Regions from separate parts of the Homo sapiens genome. Here regions 1, 2 and 4 are each linked to region 3. The links are contacts of gene promoters, found by promoter capture Hi-C in blood cells and fetal thymus (Javierre and others, 2016). All regions are on one chromosome and are shown on one strand. The core of a region is centred on a gene start or on the middle of the fragment in contact, and the rest is flanking DNA. Distances in the headings are between cores, read along the strand shown.

The links. Contacts are between HindIII fragments. The CHiCAGO score rates a contact against its expected background, and 5 or more counts as called.
Region 1: a contact is called between a fragment that was not itself captured here and the fragment with the promoter of YAF2 in region 3, in 1 of 17 cell types (non-activated CD4 T cells). The highest score is 6.7, in non-activated CD4 T cells.
Region 2: a fragment that was not itself captured here is called in contact with the fragment with the promoter of YAF2 in region 3 in 1 of 17 cell types (total CD4 T cells); the score reaches 5.5 in total CD4 T cells.
Region 4: a contact is called between a fragment that was not itself captured here and the fragment with the promoter of YAF2 in region 3, in 1 of 17 cell types (total B cells). The highest score is 5.4, in total B cells.

Annotation. Positions count from the first base shown.
Region 1 is chr12:43,822,911-43,825,766 of GRCh38, reverse strand. It overlaps a transcript of TMEM117 not described here. Among named protein-coding and RNA genes, the nearest start is that of TMEM117, 12 kb to the left of the region's middle. The HindIII fragment of the contact is 1,034 bases long and covers 908-1,941 here.
Region 2 is chr12:43,771,045-43,773,744 of GRCh38, reverse strand. It overlaps IRAK4 (interleukin 1 receptor associated kinase 4), which reads right to left. Exons shown (of 12, transcript NM_016123.4): 3 at 2,380-2,525; 4 at 1,383-1,565; 5 at 673-833. Among named protein-coding and RNA genes, the nearest start is that of IRAK4, 13 kb to the right of the region's middle. The HindIII fragment of the contact is 1,292 bases long and covers 684-1,975 here.
Region 3 is chr12:42,236,902-42,239,601 of GRCh38, reverse strand. YAF2 (YY1 associated factor 2) reads left to right here and starts at 1,354. Exons shown (of 4, transcript NM_005748.6): 1 at 1,354-1,447; 2 at 1,878-2,003. The coding sequence starts at 1,422. It overlaps LOC124902920 (a long non-coding RNA gene), which reads right to left and starts at 1,157. Exons shown (of 2, transcript XR_007063279.1): 1 at 875-1,157; 2 at 324-465. RefSeq lists silencers at 609-748, 939-1,178, 1,229-1,608, 1,709-1,778, 1,899-2,228 and an enhancer at 1,562-2,063. The HindIII fragment of the contact is 7,822 bases long and covers 1-2,678 here.
Region 4 is chr12:43,278,116-43,281,096 of GRCh38, reverse strand. No RefSeq gene overlaps it. Among named protein-coding and RNA genes, the nearest start is that of LINC02461, 120 kb to the right of the region's middle. The HindIII fragment of the contact is 751 bases long and covers 1,128-1,878 here.

The DNA.
Region 1 (2,856 bases), core at 175-2,674, 1.6 Mb before region 3:
GAGGTGGAGTTTCATAATCTTCATTGTAATAACTTCCTAAATAACTCTTATGCACATTTAATTCAGAGAAACACATAGAAAGGGAATTATTCATGTTACTGCTCTTCCTATATTTGAATAGTATAATATTTAATAATAATATAATCACATAATATTTAATAATAAATACAATCACGTTCTTTATGTCAAAGGGAGTATTCTGGTCATTGGATTTGCCAACCAAACACAGACAGATGCATCTGTGATTTATTCATTCACATGAAGATAAAATCACCTGAGGAGAATAGAGAGAATGAGGAGAGAAGGTAGCCAGGAAAGGCTTATGGATAGGGCCCTGTGGTGCCTAGAATCCAGTCACTTCATACCACCTTTTAAGTGAGTAGGGATCAACCCCTGCTGCATATTGGGATAATCCAGCGCTTGGGGTCCACCCAGCCAAACTAATGAAATCAATATTCCTTAAAAGCAGGTAGGCCAGCCCCCTTCCCTCCATAGTTCCAAATAGCTGCTTCTACGCCAACCCTTGTAAACTAGTGGCAATTTTTCCTGTGGATTATTTTCTTTGATCCTCATACTACTTTAAAACTTCAGCTGAGTTGCAAATATTTAAAAACCAGTAGATTTCACTTTAAACAAAAACAGAATGTTTAGCTTCTCATGAAAACCAAAAGAACTGACCTTACAGGGTCTACATTCTTGAATGGCATACAGTTGCCGAACAAGGTCTTCAGTCATTTAAGTTCCCCACCTGGTTGCCTGGCCTCTGAAGGCATTTGGGGACTATAGTGCACCCTACCACAGGGTTTTCTTTTTGTTTTGTTTTGTTTTGTTTTGAGACGGAGTCTCGCTCTGTCGCCCAGGCTGGGGTGCTGGAGTGTAGTGGCACAATCTTGGCTTACTGCAAGCTTCGCCTCCCGGGTTCACACCATTCTGCCTCAGCCTCCCCAGTAGCTGGGACTACAGGCACCCGCCACCATGCCCGGCTAATTTTTTATATTTTTAGTAGAGACAGAGTTTCACTGTGTTAGCCAAGGTGGTCTCCTGACCTCATGATCCGCCTGCCTCGGCCTCCCAAAGTGCTAGGATTACAGTCGTGAGCCACTGCGCCCGGCCCTACAGGGCTTTCTTAGCTCAGCAGCTGCCTTCCTGCATCCAAGGCCCCACGCTAGCCTCTCCTGTCACAGATCTCAAGGTTTCCCTGAGCAAGCATGACAATGGTTTGGGAAAATCACATGAAACAGGCTCCACCTTATCTGCTGGTTTTATCCTCTCCTAGAGCCCATTTCCTGGAGCCATAGTTGCCAAAGTCTCATGTCCTCTTGAGAGAACTAGAGCTGCTACCCTGGAAGCGGCACTCACCTCAGGCCAAGTGAAGTCTGACACCAAAACTGATACTTCTGCATTCTACCAATAGGGATAGATTCCCTCCTAATCACAAATTAGCTGGACACCTGGGTCTCCCAGAATGAATCCTGGCAAGTCCCTCAAGCCTTAGTGAAATCACTCTTCTTCAGGAGAAAGCAATGCCACCTCGTTTGACCAGAGAGCCTCCCTAGGACTGTGGAAGGCTGGATTCTGTATTAGAATTCGATAGACATGCTTGGTGAGAGAAATTCAAGAAAATTGCCCCTCCTTCAAGTAATGAACTTTCTCAAGTCTCTTTTGTTTAATTACATCACAATATTAGCTAATGGATTAGCTAACTAATTAGCTAATTAATTATTTTTTAAAATATCAATGCTAGACAGCTGAAATTTTTATTGTTTTCCTGCTGTGAGAATGTATATGTATACTAATGTAAGTAATTTGTCAAACTATTGTTAAAACTATTAAGCTGGCACAAATGTTTCTTATCTACAGTAAAAAGGAAAACAATAGGAAATTAGCATTTGAACTGGTATGGAAAGTACTTCAATTTAATCACTATCAGCACACAAAGCTTTTTTTTTTTAAATTACACTCATGGCCAGTGCAGTGGCTCATGCCTAGCACTTTGGGAGGCTGAGGTGGGTGGATCACGAGGTCAACAGATCGAGACCATCCTGGCCAACATGGTGAAACCCCGTCTCTACTAAAAATACAAAAATTAGCTGGGTGTGGTGGCGCGTGCCTGTAGTCCCAGCTACTTGGGAGCCTGAGGCAGAAGAGCCTGAGGCTTGAACCTGGGAGGCGGAAGTTGCAGTGAGCCAAGATCACGCCACTGTGCTCCAGCCTGGAGACAGAGTGGAACTCTGTCTCAAAAAAATAAATAAATAAAGAAATAAAAATGAAATTACACTCACACAAATTTGTTCTCTCTACTGTGAGATTGTTTTCAGCCTCACCAAAAAATGTAGTTATCCTTTTCTTGATCATCTCATCGTTTAGCCTCAATAAATGTATAGTATAATGGAAAGGAGGTAGATTTTTGGAGTTAGGCCTGGGTTCAAATTCTACTTTGCTACCTTTTCTATCTGTGAACTTGGCCAAGTTGTTTAACCTCTCTGAGACACATACCCATATCTAACATTTTTGGCTAATAACATAAAATGTATGGACTGCAGTGAGGATTAAATGAAATAGTATAAGTAAACACATCCTGGCACATCTCCTATTACCTTCTTAATACATCAAGTTTCATTCCAGTGGATAGTAGGCCTAATAAATGTCCTCAAATTTTTATAATAAAATTTCTGTATAAATGCTTTGCCATAAATTCAATGGAAAAGTATCATCATACCCTCTGGGTCCATGACTTTGACTTGATATCCCTTAAACGTGTACTGTGGGTTCCATTTGTACAATAAGTCTAATAGTTATAATTATCTCTATTAAAGAGAGAAAAAGGTTTTCAAATTTCAGTAGATTACCCTTTTT
Region 2 (2,700 bases), core at 80-2,579, 1.5 Mb before region 3:
GGAAACAAAATGAAATAACACGAAATTTCACTACACAAAAAAATTTGAAAAAAATTCTAGGAAACAGAAAACATAAGCAATTTAGGTGCAAAATGGAAAAAAAAACCCTACAAAAGCCCTGCAACATATATGACAAAGAGTGACTATCTTTATCACATACATATGCATTCTATTGATATTTTTAGGCTCTAACAAAAGATTTAGAATATAACAAGTAAGTAAAAGGTAAACACCTCAGTAGAAATGGCAACAAAGGACACAGATAAAAAAAATTTTAATGTTTTTTCTTAATGTATACTTCCTAAATTTTATTTTTAAATGGGAAAAGTAATGCAAACAAGGTTTTTTAAAAATAGTTTTCCTGGTATCTTACCATTTTAATCTTGATTACACATGAAGCACTATGTGGAGCAGGGCTTCTCAACTTTAGTTTGTGAATCTCCCAAAATTGTATGTATGATCTTGTGTACATGGACATAACCACATTTTTCTAGGGGTAGGGTCCATAGTGTTCAACAGATTTTAAAATTTTAAGAACTACTATTTAGAATGATGTTTATTTAAAGAAAATACATACTGAAATAATGTATTTCCTAAAGATTAACTTTAAAACCTATTATAGGGCACACTATGAAGCAACTCTTTCTTTTTATTCCTGAAAATATAACTTACTGCTGCAAGCTTCTTCACTGCCACAGTTGTGTTATTTACGTAGCCTTTATATACAACTCCAAATCCTCCCTCTCCCATTTTATTACCACCAACAGAAATGGGTCGTTCATCAAAGTTATTTGTGACATTCTTCAATTCATAAAATGAAAAACTGTGAAAACCTATGTCAAAATAAGAAAAACATGCTTAAATTTTAAAAATTCGTTTTAATAATTATAATATTTTCTCATTTGAAGATTTCACATATATGCAAATATTTATGATTTTGAATTAGACAAGATGAGAGAAGATAAAACCATTTCTAAAATACAAATTATAAGTTTTTCTTGAGAACTCTGTTTGGTGATCCTACCCTCTGAACACTGTAGTCACCCACCCAAAATTCTAGTCACACATTTGAGTGGGTCTAGTCTACCTACCCAAAACTCTAGTCACATATTTTATTTTAAAAAGTGACCTTTCCAAGTTATGTAAATATTTACTTATTTTTTTTCATAGCTTCTCTGGTTGTTTGCATGTCCTATTGCCTCTAATCACTGATTAATACAATGAAGATGGTTCTTAATATATCAGGAGGAAACAACTCACAAAAGAGCTATTGCCAGTGTGCCTGTGATTGCTGCACAAACAAAAGAGCAAGAGCTTTCTTTTAAAGCACTGGTAGTCTTAATGACAAATCCCTAGTGGAAAGCACTGAAAATGTTACTTACGTGTATCACTAACTTCTAAACTTTTATTTTCTGGACTTGAGGAGTCAGGTGGCATATAGCTTTGTTCAAGATTCTGCACAGGTGTCATCAATGTCCTGTCTTTGTCACAGAAAGGCATCTGTTTTTGCTGAACTGTTATAGCTTCTTTAGAAGGTAGTGTATTAGCAGTTTTGGGAACAGCATCTAACAAATGAAGTAAGATACAAGTGGTTTTTCAGTAAGAAAAAGTGGTTGTGAAAAAGTTAAACTAGAAACTTGGTTCATTTAATATCATTCCAGTTTCTACAGGTTGGTCTCATATTCTCACAGCACACACAAGAAGCTGCCTAGTAAGAATCTGTAAGTTATAATGAAGATGGGTAAAGAGAGTAAGGCAGTGTTTTCAAACAGTGATCCATGAGCCACCTATATCAGAGGCACTGAAGCACCTGTTTAAGAATATAGACCTTAAACCCAATTCCAGAATTCTGATTACATAGATTTGGAACAGACCCTAGGAAACTACATGTTTAACCAGAACCTAAGTGATTCTTATGCATGATAAAGGTTGAGAACCACTGGTGTGAAAGGCATCAAAGGAAAAAAAGAAAGCTTATAAGGAAGGCAACTAGACACTACCACATCAGAATACAATTTTTTAAAATTATGATTATAGAGTCCCATCAGGGTAGAAGTTGAAGATGAAAAAAAGGAAGAACTCAAAATTATAATTACTTTCTTACAGCCTAAGCCAGAAGTATGAAGTCTTTCCTTCTAAACTTCCTGTTGGCACAAAACTATCTAACTCTTACGAAGCTTCTATCACCTTAGCAGCAGAGTCCACAGTGTCCTTTGTCTGTGCTGCTTTTTAAAGAGTTGAGGAGTGCTGAAAGAAAGGGACTCTCAAATGTAAGCTTCATCTACTATGAGAAAAAAGGAAGAGTAAGAAGAAACATTTATATTTCTGCCATTTGTCTTTCCACCCTAATTGTGGACACCCTGGTCACAATCAGTTTACCTGGGAGCAAAAGACTCGCAGGAGCAAAAAATTCATTTTGGATCAAAAGATCCACAAGATCACCAACTGTGCAATTTGTGGTGCCCCAGTCAAACAGTAATTCAGAAGTGGGACTTTTTCCAGTTTGAAGTAATGCTTCAAATCTCCTTAAAAGTAAGTAACAAAGAAACAAAATTAGTCTATTGTCTTAGTCCATTTTGTGCTGCAATAATAGAATACCACAGACAGGGTAATTTATAAATAATAGTTAATTTGGCTCACGGTTCTGGAGGCTGGGAAGTCCAAGATCGAGAGGCTGCATCTGGTTAGGGCCTTCTTGCT
Region 3 (2,700 bases), core at 105-2,604:
GCTGAGAATCCTGGGCTTCTGACTGTATTATTTCCTATGTAGTTTAGCTATAAAATTATTTTACATGAATTCGGACTTGATGTAAACCTAGAAAGATGGACAGAAACAGCACAGTTAAAGAGGGATATACTTTATGCAGAAGTAACCCATGTGCATGAAGGAAGGGTTCTGGTAAGGGAATGAATTTCATCTGCACTCTTTGTCAGGAGGCAGCTTTCCTTATGGGAGAGGGAGGCAGAGGTAGGGAAAATGTGTGAAGCCTTTGAATGCCAGGCTAAGGAGTGTGGGCAAGTCGTTAGTGGTTCTTTATCAGAGTGGTGGCATAGTATTAACAGCATTTTATTATTAATCTGGTTGTGGATTACTGAATACATTGGGGAGGTAGAAGTGGAGCTTCGGAGACCAGTTAGATGGCTGTTGCTGGAGTCTGGAGTATGAGGACCTTTAGTATGTTGACGTAGAGACCTGGGAAGGTGTTCTTTTGTTAGCAGACAGCGTTGAGGGGACATGCAAACTCCTTATATTTAAAAAGGACTTATGAGTATATAGGGGTTTCTTTCAAAAGCAGCTACTGCAGAGGCCTGAGAGGCCAAAAGGGCGCGTTTGGAATTAAAACAGAGTTAGACTCTTGGCTTTGTCATTTTCTAATTATATAGCCTAGAGGAAGTCACCTAATCTCTCTTGAGTCTTGATTTCAATTCCTCTAAGTTAGGGTTGACAATCCCTACTTGTTAGAGCATCTGTGTGCATAAACCAGACAGTGCTTTAAGGCATGTAGCAATGGCGCTGCGTGTTGGTTCCCGCCTTCCCCCCGGTATACTGCAGGCGGGGGCTGGGTAGCTAAGGACAGCGGAGGCCAGGAAAGTCGTTCTACCTGGAGATCCCGGGCTGGCACTTCTGTCCAGACCTGGACAGGCCTCCGAACGCCGGCCGGCCCTACCTTGGACCAGGCTTCGCACGGGATGACGGAGCATCCCCTGCCAGTCGGTGGGACAGACGTTTTCCTCCTCAGAGGGGCTCTGGAGCGCGAGGCAGTCCCCGGCAGCCGGGGGTACCAAGGGGGCAACGGGGGAACAGCGCGGAGAGGCGGCGCCGGCGCCCGAGGCAGCCGCGGCCACCGCGGCCACCCCCGCACCGCCCGCCGGCTAACTCGCCGCGGGTGCTGGGCCGCGCTGGCCGCGTTTGAAGTCTCCGGCGCGGCTGCTGGTTGGCCGGCGAGGGTCACGTGCGCCCAGGCAGGAGTTTCCCCGACAGCTGGAGGCTGCGTGGGATCCGGCGGCGGCTCCCGAGCGCGGCGGTGCGGCCTTCCCCGCCCCCTCCCTCCCTCCTCCCCCGCCCGCTTCCGCCCGGCTTATTATCCTCCTTATTGACAAACAGAGCGGTCGCGGCGGCGACTCTCGGCGTGCGGTGATAGCCAAGCCATGGGAGACAAGAAGAGCCCCACCAGGTAACAGCGCCCGGGCCCCGGGGCCCGGACTGTGCGGGCGGCAGGGCCCTCGTGCAGGGCTTCGGGTGGCCGCCTCGCTAGCCGCCCGGGCACCGGGGCGAGCACGGGGGCAGCGCCGCTGGTGTGCGAGTGCTGCCGCTTGAGGGGGCCGGCGCCGGCCGCCCCACAATGGAGCCGCGATGGCGGCGGCGACCGGAGCGGCCGCCCGGGTGTCAGAGCGGCTGTGGCGGCGGCGACTGCGGCCGCGCTCGCGCCCTGCCTCTTCCTGACTCCCTTCCCCCTCAGCCGGAGCGCGGCGCGCCGAGGGCCCGCGGGGCGGGGGTCGCAGAATTGGGGCGGGGGGCGGGGCGGGGGCGGCCGCGGGGCCCGGGCACCGGGCGCGGCCTGCTGGTGACCCCGCGCCGCGTCGTGTCCGGGTTGTGTCCTGCAGGCCGAAGCGGCAGCCGAAGCCGTCCTCGGATGAGGGTTACTGGGACTGTAGCGTCTGCACCTTCCGGAACAGCGCCGAGGCCTTCAAGTGCATGATGTGCGATGTGCGGAAGGGCACCTCCACCCGGTGAGTCCCGGGCCTGCCCCTCGCGCCGCCGGCCGGCGGGGTGGCGACCAGAGGACGCCCTTGCGGCTGCCGCCCCCTCCCATGACACTGGCGGACCCGGCGGGAGGAGGCAGACGGAGGTGGCTGTGGCGATAGGAACTGGGTCACATTGATCGCAACCCAGGCGATGGTTTGCGGTGAGGGGTAATTGAAGAGGCTGTAACGTTTTTTGCTGCCAAGAGAGAATAAATTATTTAAGGGAGGCATTAGCTACTGCGATTTAATTCGTATCGCTGGGTGTAATGCCCCTCTCCCCATTCTGGGTATAAAAATGTTGGCTGCATTGTTGTGTTAGTGTGTGGGGATCAAGGAAAACCCATAAAATCTCTTTAGGAGCAAAGGATGTAATTTAATTTCGTTCCTAAAGAAAGAAAAGTATCTGATTGCAGAATACACAATATATTAAAACTTATTTTTCTACATGTACTTCTGGAAGGGTCAGATCAAGGTTTTATTTAGTGTTTTTATTCCAGTACTCTAATATTTTATAAATAAGTAGTTGGAGATGAGCCCAGTCACAGGAACAGATTTTTACTGAAAGTACCTTTATATCTTTAGTTTGATTAAATGGCAGTCTCTTAGACAAATGAGATGAAAAGATCTCTGCCTATTTTCAGACTTTATTTATTGTAAGCTTGCAGTATAATAACTCTGTCTT
Region 4 (2,981 bases), core at 254-2,753, 1.0 Mb before region 3:
GGATTCAGAACAAAAAGGAGCTCGTCCTATTGTTGGGTAGTGAAGTGAAAGCAAGATTCATTTATTCATTCAGGCTTATAAAAATAGGCAGTTGGAAAAAGGGAATGAACGAGTGAACACTTAGTAAGCTCTCTCAATAAACGTTGAGTTACTTCCACTTCCAAATGTTCACCAATCACACAGAGTCAAGAAAAAAAGAGATCTCAAGCAGATTTAAAGTAGAATCTCCAGGGCACTGTCTGTGGCAGATATTCTCAAATTTTTGGTCTCAGAACCCCTTTATACCCTTAAAAATTATGGACCCGAAAGAGTTTAAGTGAGTTATATCTAGTTACAATTATCATATTAAAAGTTAAAACTGAAATATATAAATTAATTCATTTAAAAATAACACTAATAACCATTTTCTTATGAAAAGGAACTACCGTCTTCCAAAAGTTAGTTATAAAAGTAGAATTGTTTGACAGTTTTGAACATCTTTTAAAGGTCTGGCTTCACGGAAGTTAGCTAGATTGGCAAATCTGTTGTGATTTGTTGCTTCAGTTGAAGTATATGAAAAAATCTGGTCTCATACACATATATAGTTGCAAAAGGGAAGAGTATTTGAATAGCCATTTTAGTAGTTGTGAATATTCATCTTTTACGTTACATCAAAATTCAAAAAGTGATAGTTTCTTAAAGATTAGTTGCAATATGAAATCTAAAATCATATTCATGAATGCTTTATAGCAGGGGTCCCCAACCTCTGTGGCTGGTCCGTGGTCTGTTAGGAACCGGGCTGCACAGCAGGAGTTGAGCAGCAGGTGAGCGGGTAAAGCTTCATCTGTATTTATTATATTTCTTTATTTCAGACAGAGTTTCATTTTTTGTGCCTAGGCTGGAGTGCAACGGCACGGTCTCTGCTCACTGCAACCTCCGCCTCCCAGGTTCAAGCAATTCTCCTGCCTCAGCCTCCCAAGTAGCTGGGATTACAGGCACCTGCCACCATGCCAGGCTAATTTTTGTATTTTTAGTAGAGACGGGGTTTCGCCTTGTTGCCCAGCTGGTCTCGAACTCCTGACCTAAGGTGATCTGCCTGCTTCAGCTTCCCAAAGTGTTGGGATTACAGGCGTGAGCCACTGAAAGCTTCATCTGTATTTACAGCCACTACCTCCATTGCTTGCATTACTGCCTGAGCTCTGCCTCTTGTCAGATAAGTGCAGCATTAGATTCTCACTGGAGCACAAACCCTGTTCTGAACTGTACCTGTGAAGGATCTAGGTTTCATGCTTATCATGAGAATCTAATGCCTGATGATCTGAGGTGGAACAGTTTCATCCTAAAGCCATCTCCGCCTACCCCCTGGTCCATGGAGAAATTGTTTTCCATGAAACTGGTCCCTGGTGCCAAAAAGTTTGGGGACTACTGCTTTATAGTCTGTCTAGTTCTGTACATTGGCCTATCTTGCACCTTTAGTGGATTTTTATCTATGCATGATTTTTGTAACATCATGATTTGTTATTTGGAATATATTGGTTCACTCTTTTACATGGTTCTTCCAAATGTACAGTGAAAAATGCCACTGTACACTTACGAGAGAATGAGCTTTTACACACAAATAATGTACTAGCATTATGCCAAAATTATTTGACTCACAGACTCTGTGAAAGTGTCTCAAAGACCCACAGGGACCCATGCTACTAGAGAGCAGCTGCTCTATGGCATCATCATGGCCTTTTTTCTCGACACTATTTAATAAACACTGTTTAAACTCTCTATTGCCCCTTCTACTCTCACAAGTACCTTCATATCACCACTTTGACCTTCTTTTGATTTACCATATACAGGTATTTCTCATTTCAGAAACTTTGTTACTTCTACTTGACTTCTAATAAAGCTTTAGTTTAGATGCTCCTTTTCCCAAGAATCCTACTCTGACTTTCCTTAATTTGGGTTAGGTATCTTGTCTTAGATATTACTCAAATTAATAACTTTTTTTTTTTGAGACGGAGTCTCACTCTGTCGCCCAGGCTGGAGTGCAGTGGTGTGATCTCGGCTCATTGCAACCTCGCCTCCCGGGTTCAAGAAATTCTCCTGCTTCAGCCTCCTGAGTAGCTGGGATTACAGGTGCCCGCCACCACGCCTAGCTAATTTTTGTATTTTTATTAGAGACGGGGTTTCACCATGTTGGTCAGGCTGGTCTCGAACCCCTGACCTTGTGATCCACCCGCCTCGGCCTCCCAAAGTGCTGGGATTACAGGCGTGAACCACCGTGCCCAGCCCTCAAATTAATAACTTATTTATTTGAAATTTCTAAGTAGATTAAAACCTTTAGGGACAAGAACCATAACCATCTCAAAAAGTATTTGACAGATACTATATTCTTCATAAATCTTTTTTTTCATTGTAACAAATATTTCAAAATAATGATATGGAACTGCAGGTAATGAGATGGGTTTCTACTGCATTAAATTCGATTTTTATCGGTCTATATTTGCAGTATTGAAGTAACTCAAGCCTGTTACGTGGAATTTTATCTTTGTAGGCAAAAATAAACTTTCTGCTAAAACTTTCCATTCTTCAAGGGACAGTTCAGGTTTCACTTCCTCTAAAACAACAATAAGTGTTTCTGATCACCTCTGTCTAACAACTATCGCTCATTCTTTTAAACATATGTAGCCCTAAAGTATTCTTATACTGCTCATTTGGCAACTTGCCACGTGTTCTTTATCTTGGAGTGCTGGTTACTTTGGGTCCATGTTTTCCCCACAAGTTCTGAGCTTCTCAAGAGTAGTGACCATGTCCTCTTTACTTTTGGAGCCTCCCTATACATTTCACATTTTCTTGGTACACAGCAGATGTTTAGTAATTGATTTTGATTTATTGGCTTTTTTTGTCATTGGAATCTCAGTCTTCTCTAAAGGACTGTTACGAAATATTTTATTGGTGATTTTTTAATTTGCAGTACAGCCTTTCTTTAAACTTGGATCTGGAGAACCTAC